Regions from separate parts of the Homo sapiens genome. Here region 1 is linked to region 2. Evidence: promoter capture Hi-C in human tissues and cell types (Jung and others, 2019). All regions are on one chromosome and are shown on one strand. Each heading gives the region's core, a stretch centred on a gene start or on the middle of the fragment in contact. The rest is flanking DNA. Distances are from core to core; before and after follow the strand shown.

What was found. The method cuts DNA at HindIII sites, captures the fragments that hold promoters and counts their contacts. A contact is called where the count stands out against the background at its distance.
Region 1: the fragment with the promoter of EVI2A here is called in contact with the fragment with the promoter of TEFM in region 2 in 1 of the 25 tissues and cell types used here (IMR-90 fibroblasts).

What each region holds. Positions count from the first base shown.
Region 1 is chr17:31,315,474-31,323,041 of GRCh38, reverse strand. EVI2A (ecotropic viral integration site 2A) reads left to right here and starts at 1,420. Exons shown (of 2, transcript NM_014210.4): 1 at 1,420-1,547; 2 at 4,019-6,632. The coding sequence starts at 4,029. The coding sequence ends at 4,739. The region is part of intron 36 of NF1 (neurofibromin 1); the gene reads right to left. RefSeq lists enhancers at 4,272-4,331, 4,542-4,591. The HindIII fragment of the contact is 10,482 bases long and covers 1-3,677 here.
Region 2 is chr17:30,901,349-30,908,468 of GRCh38, reverse strand. TEFM (transcription elongation factor, mitochondrial) reads left to right here and starts at 2,231. Exons shown (of 4, transcript NM_024683.4): 1 at 2,231-2,301; 2 at 3,940-4,403. The coding sequence starts at 2,271. RefSeq lists enhancers at 693-1,493, 1,472-1,741 and a silencer at 6,231-6,431. The HindIII fragment of the contact is 8,355 bases long and covers 1-5,140 here.

The DNA of each region.
Region 1 (7,568 bases), core at 171-2,670, 420 kb before region 2:
TAGGGAACTGTTCAACCGGTTTTATTTTCCCTTAAAGAAAGGGTGGTATGACCAAAGACAGTGATGTATACAAGATATAAGAAGGATTCAGGGCTACCGAAAAGGCACTGTAGAGTCTAGGTATGACCTGATAAGGATCTAAAATAGTACTGTTGACAGTAAAAACAGGGAAAAAGAAACTGATCCAACAATATGAAGGAAGGACCAACATGATTCAAAGTCTGATCAGGACTGAGAGGACTTAAATTAAAATGATGTGTTGTATACTAAGCCTCTGATATTAGAATGTTGCTATCATGAACAGAAACAAGAAGACTGTCACAGGCAGCCTCCTTTAAAGAAAAAATAAAGTTCTTTTTATTTCATTAATTTAATTAATTTTTAAGAGATGGAGTCTTGCTATGTTACCCAGGCTGGATTTGAACTCCTGGGCTCCACCAGTGATCCTCCTACCTCAACCTACCTAGTAGCTGGGATTACAGATATGTGCTGCCATATCCAGTTCTTTTTTTTTTTTTTTTTTTTTTTTTTTTTTTTTTTGAGACAGAGTCTTACTCTGTCTTCCTGGCTGGAGTGCAGTGGCATGATCTTAGCTCATGCAGCCAAGATCTCATGATCTCTGCAGCCTCCACGTCCCGGGTTCAAGCTATTCTCCTGTCTCAGCCTCCCAAGTAGGTGGGACTACAGGTGCATGCTACCCTGCCTGGTTAATTTTTATATTTTTAGTAGAGACAGGTTTTCTCTATGTTGGCCAGGCTGGTCTTGAACTCCTGGCCTCAAGTGATCTGCCTGCGTCAACCCTCCCAACGTGCTGGGATTACAGGTGTGAGCCACCGTGTTCAGCCCATACCTAGTTCTTAAAGTCTGTTTCAGTCATGTTAAACTTGAGGTGATGACAGGATGTTTGACAGTTGTGTGTGTGTGTGTGTGTGTGTGTGTGTGTGTGTATACACACACTACACCACACGAAAGCATTTTCTGTCCCATATAATCTAAGTTTACTAGATATTTTCTCAAATAATTGCTGCAGTTCCACAATTGTTACATTATCTGATCAGTATCCCATGGACTCCAAACTCACATTTTCAAATCAGTCTGTAGATTTCAAATAAGTCTTTTAGAGAAGATTTGAAATGGAAGATACCATTTCAAAACCTCTTTTGAATGACACTAAAGCATGTAGCAGGCCTATAGAATGAGCATACTGTCAAAAGGCATTAAGTGGAAAACCCTCCCTGCTCTGGAGGCGGGGATTGGTTCTACAAAGCCTCCTGTCATGCCAGTGGCCAACTAGAGAAGTTGGAGCTTTTTCGTTGTTTTTTTTTTTTTCCCTCCTGTGACATGTGCTTTAGTTGCAGTGGAAAGGAAATGTGTCATCTGTGGTTTGGTTTTAAAAGTGGAAAACTAGCTGCACATATCCTTTTTTACTGCAGATTTACTTTAAGGCTCATATTCTCCAAGTCTATTCTGCTTTAAAAAGAAGACAAGAAAAGAAGTGGTTTATCAAAATCACGTTATAATCAGATTTTGACCAAGCATTTTGTAAGGTAGGTCATATATATACGGCTTTTCTTATGCCTTTTCACTTCTAACGTCTGACAGATTAGTGTTCGAGGAAATGCTATCAAAGTGTGTAAGAATCTCACTAACAAACTAGAATTGTGACTGAAAATGTATACTTTTTTTTTCTGTCCTGTTACATAAATTTTAAGTTAGAAATGAAAAAATTTGCCATCGCCATGGAGTTTTAAATTAGGATTACGAAGGATCTAAGTTTGGTTTCCTCAAGTAAACTGGAAATGTTTTGTTATTTTTCAAAAGTTAAAAAATAAATTTCTCATTACTAATGCTTGGACATTACAAATTCTACTGAAAATAAATTCTACTGAAAATGATCAGATATAAGAAAACTTCTGATAACACAACCTGGCCTCCAAGGCATAAACTGGAGTAAAAACAGTCCTCAATTCTCAGGCATTTGTAAGGGCAAGAGAAAGTCTCATTTTGTCATACAGTTTGTTTATTTGGGCACTGCAGTACATCTGGCTGAAGACAATCAACAGCAGGCCTATTATCTGTTCCGTGGTAAGCACTGTTAAAATGTGTACCAATACTATGATGTATACTACACTGTTAATGAACTAATGTGAAAAGAATAATCTACTTTAAATCATTCTAGCATCTAATACAGAAGTCCAGTCTAGTATAAAAAGATGGAAATTACTTGCTAATCCAATTTCAAGTATTTCTTTTTGTGGAAGAATCATGAAATATCCAAAGATTTATGTCACTAAACTTAAAAATTAAAGCTGAACACTATTATACAAAAGCCAGTGACTTGGGCCTTTAATTGTCTACTAAAGGTCATAATCTAAAAAGTAATCTTAATCCTGGAATATTTAATAGTTTTTCCTCCCTACTATTAATATGAAATATAGTCTCCAGTTAGCATTGTTTATTACATGCTACTTTTGTTTGCATAACTCAACGTATCACATTTCTTATTTTCAATTTCTGTATTTTAATAGTATACAAATGTCAGCCAATGACATATAACAACCATTTCTTATAAAACCTTGATGTTCAAAAGCCTGACTAGCAGTGGCATCCATGTTGCTTAGGAGTTGGTTTGGAAACAAAGACTTTCAGGCCCTACCTATACTAGCTAGGTAAGAATCTGCCTTTTTTTTTTTTTTTTAAATAAAAGGACTCCTAAGTACATTTGAGAAGAATTTCTATAGCATACGTAGGGTTCTTAACCAGGCAATTTCATTTAGTAAATCTCAGGAGAACAATATAGTTTTGCTTTTAGTTCATTCAAATAAATGCTAACAATAAAATACTCCTTTCAAAAGTAGCTCAAGACAAACTGGTATATTATTATAAGATACCTTAATAATGATTATAAATCTTTCCTGCTGGGTTAGCAGTACATGGAACTGTTAAATTCTAAGATATGCCATTTCTATTTAAATCAATCATTTGGTAGATTTAAAAAATGTATAATATAACTTGTCTCCTTTTTGTACTAGTTTCCAGCAAGCTCAGGGCCAAAGCGGAAATTCAACATTTTCAATTATCTGTTGAGATGCTTATAACCTGCCACTTCATCCCAAATCATCAAGATCCTGATGCTCTATTTCTATTTTATTACACATTTTTTTTTACAATTATGTCAAAATCAGAAAAAATGCTAGGTATAAATGATGCTTTAAAAGAAAACCCAGCAACTTTTGTTGAACTTTTAAGTCTACTCAGAGGAAATTTGCTGTTTTTTTTTTTTTTTCTTCAGATTTTTAGGTTGAGAAAACTGGTATGCCTTTGCCTTCAGAAAGACACAGTCAGTCCAGGGAAATATAAATGAAAAGAGACAACCACCACAGTAAAATTGCGTTCACAAATACACTTACAAATGTATTTCTAAGTACCAGCTTTATTCTAAGCTTCAAGATGAACACCCAAGAAAAAAAAAGAACACCTTGAATTTCTATTTGAAGTTCAGTTTCTTTTGGTTGCTACCAAACTTCCCCTCTTTCCACCAAAAAAATTTGCATTTATTTCATACATGAAGCAAGAAGCTCAAGGCCACATTTCTTCTGTAAAGATTGGTGACAGGTTAGAGGGTGGGTAGTTTCTGTAAGAATGATCCTTAATTTTTTTTTTTTTTTAAAGAAGGAATCAGAAAAGTAAAAGCAGAACTAACTGACTCAAAGCAGAAGTCTAGCACGCTTCAAAGGAAGAAAACTATATAAAGCCATGATAGTCCACTTAAAATGATTAATATTTATTTGTAATGCTAACTTCTAGCATCTAAAAGTGTTAATAGAAATTAAAATGCTTCTTCATACATAGCTGAATAGAAAAGAAATTTAGTTGAGAAGGAATTCAGGGTAGCGAATATTAGGCATAAGCTTGTAGTTTACTTGTAACATCTCAACACTATCTTTTAACTACAATTACCAAAACTAGGATCCATTATTCTTTCACAAACTAACAAATTATATTGCTATCCCAACAGATTGCCAAGCATGCCCACGGACATGGAACACACAGGACATTACCTACATCTTGCCTTTCTGATGACAACAGTTTTTTCTTTGTCTCCTGGAACAAAAGCAAACTATACCCGTCTGTGGGCTAACAGTACTTCTTCCTGGGATTCAGTTATTCAAAACAAGACAGGCAGAAACCAAAATGAAAACATTAACACAAACCCTATAACTCCTGAAGTAGATTATAAAGGTAATTCTACAAACATGCCTGAAACATCTCACATCGTAGCTTTAACTTCTAAATCTGAACAGGAGCTTTATATACCTTCTGTCGTCAGCAACAGTCCTTCAACAGTACAGAGCATTGAAAACACAAGCAAAAGTCATGGTGAAATTTTCAAAAAGGATGTCTGTGCGGAAAACAACAACAACATGGCTATGCTAATTTGCTTAATTATAATTGCAGTGCTTTTTCTTATCTGTACCTTTCTATTTCTATCAACTGTGGTTTTGGCAAACAAAGTCTCTTCTCTCAGACGATCAAAACAAGTAGGCAAGCGTCAGCCTAGAAGCAATGGCGATTTTCTGGCAAGCGGTCTATGGCCCGCTGAATCAGACACTTGGAAAAGAACAAAACAGCTCACAGGACCCAACCTAGTGATGCAATCTACTGGAGTGCTCACAGCTACAAGGGAAAGAAAAGATGAAGAAGGAACTGAAAAACTTACTAACAAACAGATAGGTTAGTGAAGAAAAATGCAAAGTAGCAATGAGAAGGCTTATGGAGTAAAAATGAAGTCAGTTGGTATTTAATCCCAAAGTGTTGTTCTGATTATCTAAAATTTGACATGGTAGACCTTGCAATTTAGAATCAAGCAGGTGAGACAGGGAGAAGTATGCCTGCTTAATTATTTAAACTGTGTACTTTTGTTTTGACACTGAATATTTTAAAAAGCAAATAATAAAATAACTAAGCATTTGAGGAAAATTTTAAGGATAAATTGAGGAAACTGATTAATAGAGATAGCAAGGGATAATTAAATAAATATTCCCTATGTAGCAACAGTGGTTAGATGATCTTTGTCTGAATGTAATTAAACTTTGAATAGTTTTAGTGTGTCCTTAAAGCCAAGTATATGCTTTAACATCAAATGGAAGTCAAATTCCTAATGCATAGATAGAGAGAGCTAAACTGTGTAATTTAATGGTATCTTCCTTGCTGGATGTGGCAGAATCCACACCAGCTTATCAACCAACACAGCTAATTTTAGAATAGATCCTTTATCTTTCCATATGGCACACGTAAGAAAGTGTTTTTCTACTATTAATATTAAATTAAAACCTTTACTTTTGTATAATAAATTAAAACTCAGAATAAACCTGTGACCACGTATATTTGCATTCACTTTATTACTTTAGAGAACACATTGTAAAGATCAATAAGAAATAGAGCACAACTAAAATAAATAAGATTTATAGCCACACCAATAGGCTAAGTGTAAACGCAAAGTATGTTTCACTGTTTATGATTAATAATATTCATCTTTTCTATAAATACTACTTACTGGAACATTAACAACAAGTACCAAAGGTTGATTAATTTTTGGACTTCAAGGATGCCAAGTAGCCTAATGATTTATTAGGGGTGTGTGTGTGTGTGTGTGTGTGTGTGTGTGTGTGTTCAAATCTGGAAAACTGCATACTTCAGGTTATAATTTAACCTTTAAAGAAACTGGCTTCAAGTAAAATAATGACTTACATTTAAGTTGAGAACCCCCCCATCTTCAATTAAATATATTACAAAAATTGGTTTGAGAGACTTTCCAAATATCTACTGAAATTAACACAGGGCTAAGATCAGGCCACATTTCAAAAATCTCATCCCTTACTGGGCATTTATTTCGGGCAATATAGTAACCATTTTAAAAATATTTTTTATATGTTTTTTCCCAAGTATGACTACAATCTTACTCTCCCTTCTAAGCTAGTGATTCTTACCCTGGCTGCATGTCAGAATCACCTGAAGAGTTTTTAAAAAACACCAATGCCTAATTCCCATGTCTTCCTTCTGATGCAACTGGAATGGGGTGAACTCTAAGCATTGGTAATTTTTACGTAACTCTCAAGGTGATAACTGCTCTTGGTCATCAAATTCAAACGTCTAGCTATTATTAAAATGAGAGGAAAAAAATAAAGCATCATTTTTATTATCAATTTATTAGCAATTTGTAAAAAACAAATCTATTCTCTAAACGAGAAATCATAACAATATTATTCCAGATAAAGTTAAGTGTTAACAAAGTAAAAAGGAAAGCATGAGAATATTCATGCCAGTCATGGTGACTGAAATCAGGTTATCTTTTGAGGGGAAAAATAACCCAGATTAGAAATGAAACTGGGCAGACTTCCCATTCTGTGCAAAAATTGAAAATTTGAGATTGTGCACCAGTACATCCAGGAGTAACACAAAGCACTCCTTGAATCAAGGGTCATAAATAAACACGTGTCAGAGAAAATTAAAAGAAATTAATATCATCATAAAAATAGGAAATTACTTTCATATTCAACATACTGGTCAAACATTTTCTCACCAGAGAGCTTCTACCACAAGGATATTTAAAAGAATATTTAAAATTCACCACTCACTATCTTGGCTATTAAACATATACTCTCAGAATGGTACTATCCAATGATAGTTACTGAACAAACAGAAGTGTTTCCTTTCCAAATGACAGGTATTTTAAAATGGTAGGTAAGATATCTTTGAGTTCAAAATTTAAAAGTCATTTAGTTTTGAACAAAAACACATTCCCTACCCCTGGGTATTACAGTTCACCAGCTTAATTCAGGGATTTAAAAATAGTGAATCAGGTTAGGCACAGTGGCTTACACCTATAATCCTGGGAGGATCACCTGAGGCCAGGAGTTTGAGGCCAGCCTGCACAACAAAGTAAGAGCCTCATCTTTACAATAAATAAATAAGCCAGCCAGCGAGCATAGTAGCATGTGCCTGTAGTCCTAGCTACTCGAGAGGCTGAGGCAGGAGGATTGCTTGAGGTCAGGAGTTCAAGACCAGCCTGCGCAACACAGCAATACCCTGTCCGTAAAAACAACAATACTTCCAAAAACCAGTGAATCAAAAGCTTTATAGCATTTGATTATATTATGCTTTATAGTAGGAGCCCATAAAAAAAAACTATTCTTTTTGCACCAAGCTATAAGTACCCTGAAGTTAAGAACAAGGTCATAATAACCTGTGTTTCCCGCAGTGACCAGGAAAAAGCAGTGCATGGGTTAACACATTCCGTACCTACTATAATATGCATCATCCAAGGCACTTTACATTTATTTAATTCCACAATAAGCTTATAAATTAGGAATTATGATCTCCATTTTTCAAGAGAGGAAAGGTGACTTACTCAAAGAAATTTTTATTCAGATGGACTCACTCCTTTCAATACACTTTGTTTAGTTAACTTAAAAATTTTTTGTATTTTAAATTTTTGTGGGTACATAGTAGGTGTATATATTTAAAGGGTAATGAGATGTTTTGATACAGTCACGCAACGTGAAATA
Region 2 (7,120 bases), core at 982-3,481:
ATTAGTCCCTGCCCCAGTCCAGCGTGTCCTCATTTTATTTTATTTATTTACTTATTTTTTTGAGACAGAGTCTCGCTCTGTCGCCCAGGCTGGAGTGCAGTGGTGCCATCTCAGCTCGCTGCAAGCTCTGCCTCCCGGGTTCACGCCATTCTCCTACCTCAGCCTCCTGAGTAGCTGGGACTACAGGCGCCCGCCACCACGCCCGGCTAATTTTTTGTATTTTTTAGTAGAGACGGGGTTTCACCGTGTTATCCAGGATGGTCTCGATCTCCTGACCTCGTAATCCCCCCTCCTCGGCCTCCCAAAGCGCTGGGATTACAGGCGTGAGCCACCGTGCCGGCCTTCCTGTCCTCATTTTAATTAGTTACATCTACAATGACCTTATTTGGAAATAATAAGGTACTGGGGGTTAGGACTTCAACAAATCTGTTTTGAGGGATGCAATTCAATCATAACATCTCAGTAAACTGAATAAGCCCTACAGTTGAGGAAATTATTTCCTCCTGATTTGGAGGATTTTGCAGAAAAAAGTTGATGTTATTTCTTGTTAGATTCCTAAGTTCCCCAGAAACTGCCAAGGTTTCTAGACTTCCTATGAGCAATTTTTTTTCTTTTTTTGAGACAAGGTCTGGCTCTGTCCCCCACGCTGGAGTGTGGTGACACGATCTCCACTCACTGCAACCTCTACCTCCCGGGCTCAGGTGATTCTCCCACCTCAGCCTCCTGAGTAGCTGGGATAACAGGCGTGCTCCACCACACCCGGCTAATTTTTTCGTAGAGACGGGGTTTCGCCATGTTGCCCAGGGTGGTCTGGAACTCAAGAGCTCAAGCGATCCGCCCGTCTCGGCCTCCCAAAGTGCTGGAATTACACTTTGGGAGCCACTGCTCCCGACCAGCACATTTTATTAATACTTATGATTCCCCTACATCCCCACTGCCTTCCAGACACAAACAATCAACCCATTGCTGCCTCATAAAAACGCAAACTCATCACCTTTCCCTCCCTCCTGAATTCCCCGTTTTTCACAAAACTGGCTCCCCATCTTCCAGAAATAATTCTTTTCTTTCCACTCTCCTTACATCTCCTAGGTTCAATTCCTTACGGTTGGCCAGGCGCAGTGGCCCACGCCTGTAATCCCAGCACTTTGGGAGGCCGAGTCGGGCGGATCACCTGAGGTCAGGAGTTCGAGACCAGCCTGGCCAACATGGTGACACCTGTCTCTACTAAAAATACAAAAATTAGCCGGGCGTAGTGGCGCTCGCCTGTAATCTCAGCTACTCGGGAGGCTGAGGCACGAGAATCACTTGAAATCGGGAGGCGGAGTTTGCAGTGAGTCCAGATCGCACCACTGCACTCCAACCTGGGCGACAGAGCAAGACTGTTAAAAAAAAAATTCCTTACGCTTGCCTCTCACCTGGGAAGATACACTCTCTTCGCGACTTCTCATTGCTCCCAGGCTCTTCACCTGCAATCCAGCCTCACATTCGCTATACAGTATATGGCCAATTTTCTAGGAACACTCTCCAGTCTGACTGCAAATCATAAACCTCGGGGACTTCAGGCTTCCTATCTGGTGGAGTATTCAACTGCTCCACCCATTATTCAAGGACCAACTAAATTCGGCGCTACATTCATCTCCCTTTATCCCTTCTAAGAGGAATACCGCTCCAGCGCCAACGCAATCTCCTCCTCCCTCGCCTTTACCTAATCCCTTGCCTGCCCTGTTTCCCCGCTGAGCTCCTCAAACACTTCGCATCTCTCCCCGTTATTCCAGTCTACCTGGTGAAAAGGTTATTTGAGGACCTTGTCTACGCTGCCCCTACCTGATCCCGCTCCCGGCGCCACAGGCTGGGCCCCAACAGGAGCTCCTCAATCTAAGTGTCTAGGAGAAACCCAGGGAGTCTCCACGAAGGAGGCACTTTACCCACTACAGACTAAAACTGGCCTCGGAATCGCCTTCCTGGAGATTCGGCCCAGCGGCTCTCAGGAGTCGGTAGGGGCAAGAACGTTTCCCCGGTGCAGTGGAAGAAGACTGCGGGCCAGCCAGGGACTCGGGATCCGGGGACAGGGCCTCGGCAGGCGCCCGCCTGGAAGCCCGCAGCCCAGACGCGGACGACCCACTGCTCAGCGGGACACACCTCGGGCCTTGCCCCGGAACGCCGCTTGGACAACAACCTTTCCGCCGAGTGCAGGCCGAGCGCTTTTGGGCGCAGCACGCAGGAACCGGAAGTCAATGGAGGAAGACTGGACCTACTGATTCAACTTGGAGATGAGCGGGTCTGTCCTCTTCACGGCGGGAGGTAGGGTGCTTGGAACACTGGGGTGATTTCCCGTCTGTCATTAGCCTCTGACCCTAGAGGCTAATGGAATACGGCGGGAGGTAGGGTGCTTGGAACACTGGGGTGATTTCCCGTCTGTCATTAGCCTCTGACCCTAGAGGCTAATGGAATACGGCTGGAGGTATTCTGGAGGAACCTGGAGTGTTTCCTTCCTCATGTCCCTCATGTCCTAGAGTGTTTCCTTCCTCATGTCCCTTGTTCAGGCCCCTCTCTTGGGGCCCCAGCCTAGCTGACGGGGCAGTTTTCGGAACATTTGTGCTTCCCCGGCCTCAGGGTCCACGGGTGGCTCCTCAGAGTGGGCGGATGGTTCACATTCTCACAGCCGCTTGCTTACCTCTGGCCACATTACTTTCCTGTGGCTGCGATGTTAGAGTGACTTCCCACTGGTTTTACAAAGTTATGCATTGTATGGTGTTTCTCATACTTGCAAAAACGTCATGTAGAAGTCTTGAAAAGTGTACGGAAGAAAGTAAAACTGCCCTTAAATCTATCACTTAGCTGAAACATTTCTTATAAACGTACAAAATTTAATTTTATTTAGTTCCACCAGATGAGATACTAAAATGTGAAAATGGAAGTGAAGACAAAACCCTTTTTTTTTTTTTTTTGAGACGGAGTTTCGCTCTTGTTGCCGAGACTGGAGTGCAATGGTGCGATCTCGGCTCACCGCAACCTCCGCCTTCCGGGCTCAAGCGATTCTCCTGCCTCAGCCTCCCGAGTAGCTGGGATTACAGGCATGTGCCACCACGCCCGGCTAATTTTGTATTATTAGTAGAGACAGGGTTTCTCCATGTTGGTCAGGCTGGTCTCGAACTCCCGACCTCAGGTGATCCGCCCACCTCGGCCTCCCAAAGTGCTGGGATTATAAGCGTGAGTCACCGCGCCCGGCCTAAGACAAACCTTAACAGGAAATATTAGTTACAAAAAGATTCCTCTAAATTAAAAATATCAGAAACTTTAAGCAGTTGGAATAATTATTTCAACTACTTGCTTCCTGATGGGTATAAAATACAATTTTCTAGGTAGTAAAACTTCGGACTGATCCATAAATATCGGGAGACATCTCTCGTGACTTGAAAACAACAAAAGCTCTATTTAAAACTCTATATAATATAGTTTAAAAACTAATCCTCTTTTAAAGATGATTCTCGGGCCGGGCACAGTGGCTCACGCCTGTAATCCCAGCACTTTGGGAGGCTGAGGTGGGCGGATCACGAGGTCAGGAGATGGAGACCATCCTGGCTAACACTGTGAAACCCCGTCTCTACTAAATATACAAAAAATTAGCCGGGCGTGGTGGCAGGCGCCTGTAGTCCCAGCCACCTGGGAGGCTGAGGCAGGAGAATGGCGTGAACCTGGGAGGCGGAGCTTGCAGTGAGCCGAGATCGGCCACTGCACTCCAGCCTGGGCAACAGAGCAAGACTCCGTCTCAAAAAAAAAAAAAAAAGATGATTCTCCAAGACAATTTAATATTGTCCTCTATTAGTTCTTAAATTCCAGGAAAGTATTTGTGACTTTGCAAAGGATCTAGTCAAGCTTGCAACTAACCCCAAAGGAAGTAGGACATCCAACTTATATTTTGCTAAATTTTCCTTTTAGAGAGGTGGAGATGCTTTCTGACCCCGTCGAGGTCATCCCTGTACTGGGCCTTACATAATTTCTGCTGTCGGAAAAAATCCACTACACCTAAGAAAATTACTCCCAATGTTACTTTTTGTGATGAAAATGCAAAGGAGCCCGAAAATGCACTTGACAAGCTCTTCTCTTCAGAACAGCAGGCTTCCATCTTGCATGTGTTGAATACAGCATCTACTAAAGAACTTGAAGCTTTCCGATTGCTTCGTGGAAGAAGGTCCATCAATATCGTAGAGCACAGAGAAAACTTTGGGCCATTTCAGAATTTAGAGAGTTTAATGAATGTGCCCTTGTTTAAGTATAAAAGTACAGTTCAAGTTTGTAACTCCATACTTTGTCCAAAGACTGGACGGGAAAAAAGAAAGTCACCGGAAAACCGGTTCCTGAGAAAGCTCCTCAAACCAGACATAGAAAGAGAAAGACTTAAGGTATATTCTTCATGTCTGCTATACTGCCTAATATTTGAGAACCTACTCTAGAAAGCACTCTTCTGGGCATTGGGTTGGGAAGTGGCTAAGACAGGGTTCTTCAGGTTTAGTTGGCAAGTATATGATCACTACCAAATAATGAGATGTACAGATAGTAAATTGGCAGTTGAGAGGAGAGAAAACAATGGGCTGTGACTGTTGTGGAAAGTTTACTGGAAGAACTCAATTTAGGTCTTAAAAGAGAGATCCTTTGGATGGGAGAGGAGGGCATTGTAGGTAGAAAGAACAGTTGATGCTGAGAAGCAGGTCTAGGCAAGGCTTATTTAAGAGGAGTGTCGTTGGAGATACCAGGCTGTGTCTAAGGGTGATGTTAGGATTAATGAGAAATTAAGGAGCAAAGATAGGTTATGGCCAGTGAGTGACTTTAGAACATTATACCAGTCTTTCCGGCAGAATTTAAAATTATTTTCTGTACCTTTTCTCCTTTAAAAAGCATTTTATCTTGAATCATGCAAGTCTATAGGTAAGATTAAAAAAAAAAAAAAAAAGCGGCTGGCTCACACCTGTAATCCCAGCACTTTGGGAGGCCAAAGCGGGCGGATCACAAGGTCAAGAGATCCAGACAATCCTGGCCAATGTGGTGAAAGCCCATCTCTACTAAAAATACAAAATTTAGCTGGGCATGGTGGCGTGGGCCTGTAGTCCCAGCTACTCGGGAGGCTGAGGCAGGAGAATCTCTTGAACCTGGGAGGCAGAGGTTGCAGTGAGCTGACATCACGCCAGTGCACTCCAGCCTGGCTACAGAGCAAGACTCTGTCTCAAAAAAAAAAAAAAAACACCATTCTAAAAGCAATTCTTTTTCTATTGTCTTAAAAAAATAAATACTAGAAATATTTGACACAGCCAATTTTTTTTTTTTTTTTTTTTTTGAGACAGAGTCTTGTGCTGTCGCCAGGCTGGAGTACAGTGGCATGATCTCACAACAACCTCCACCTCCCAGGTTCAAGCGATTCTCCTGCCTCAGCCTCCTGAGTAGCTGAAACTACAGGCACATGCCACCACGCCCAGCTAATTTTTGTATTTTTAGTAGAGATGAGGTTTTACCATGTTGGCGCCAGGATGGTCTTGATCTGTTGACCTCGTGATCCACCTGCCTCGGGCTCCCGAAGTGCTGAGATTACAGGTGTGAGACACTGCGCCCGGCCACAGCACTCAAGTATTAAACTTTAGAGGAACTCATGTCCTGTGTAACATTGCTTGATAATCATTATCTCATAAAAATCATAAGCACCATTTTTTTTCTGGACCAGTGGGTCCGTTTTTTGAGGAATATGGGTACTTTTGAAAACCTGATGAAAGCTGTGGACCCTCTTCCCATAGAAAAAGATATAGCACATATACACAGAATACTACACAGTTTCAGAGGACTGGCAGATTCTGTTAAGTCCACTCATGGACTCCAAGTAGAACTGCTGCAATTGATCTGGAACATATTTTAACCAAATTCTTCAGGGAGGATTCTCATCCAGATTCATGGCCAAAACTATTTATACCCAGATTAGAGTGGAGTTGCATCTTATTTAGGGGGCTGGATTTTAAGTCAGTTTTTATGGAGATATAAGTCATGCAGTAAAATCCTTTAAGAAAAAATCGATTGCCGACGAAGTATTGTGTGTAGTCTGGTTCAGTAATGCTTGTGCACAGTAAAGCTTGAGAGTCACTTAGCTAAAGAAAACCAAAAGGAAGTCTGTATTTTGGGCATCTATACTATTTTGTCTTTAAGATATTTATCCAGTCCTTAGCAATGAAAGGGAGATGGGTATACAACTAATTGTTCCTGTTTATTTGCCTCTGTATCTATAGAACATATTAGTTTGTTAATATAACTAAGTGAGCCATGTTGGGGAAAGGTGATAGCATTGTACTTCATCGTCAGCCCAGACTTGATAGGAAGCAAAATCTAAATATTCAATTACTTATTATATATCTCCTCTTAGAAGCCCTATAGGCAACCCAAACTTAATGCATTAAAAACAAACCAAAACAAAACAAAAAAATTTCTTCCCACCTTCCCTAGGTCATGTGACTCCTATCTTCGTCATCATTAATGATGCCATTCAGTCACTGATATAAAACTGGAATTATTCTAGACTCCTCGTTAAACCTATGTATTAATTCTGCTCCCACTATCTGTTTCTTTTCCTTCTGTCATTGTCTTCAATTCTTAACACTTTCTCATGTTGTAACAGGTACCTAACACAGATCCCTACCTTTAGTTCCCTCCAGCCCATCTTTTACACCATCAGTGATTTTTCTGAAATGTAAATCTTATGTTATTCCTTAAAATTCTGTTTTTTTAGTGGCCCCTGTAGCACTCAGGATAAAGCAAGTTACTTACCTTTATAGACATCTGCCTTGTCCTCTGCCCTTTTCCTATTCAGTCTTTATTCTACTGCCAGAGTGTGAGATGTCAAACAGCCTATCTTTCCAGACATCTGGGTGAAATAACTTCCCATTTACTGTCTCATTCTCCTAGTCCTCCAGTAAACCTTCCCTGACCACTTCTCTCTACAATAGTTTTATGGTGGCATTTCTTATAATGTACAGTTACGTTTGTTGTTTCCTAGTATCTAGTGCAGACCTTGGCTACACTTGAGTTTGAATGCCTACTTTGGGCAAGGTGCTGAGAATGAGTATAGGTCCTTTATCTATAAACT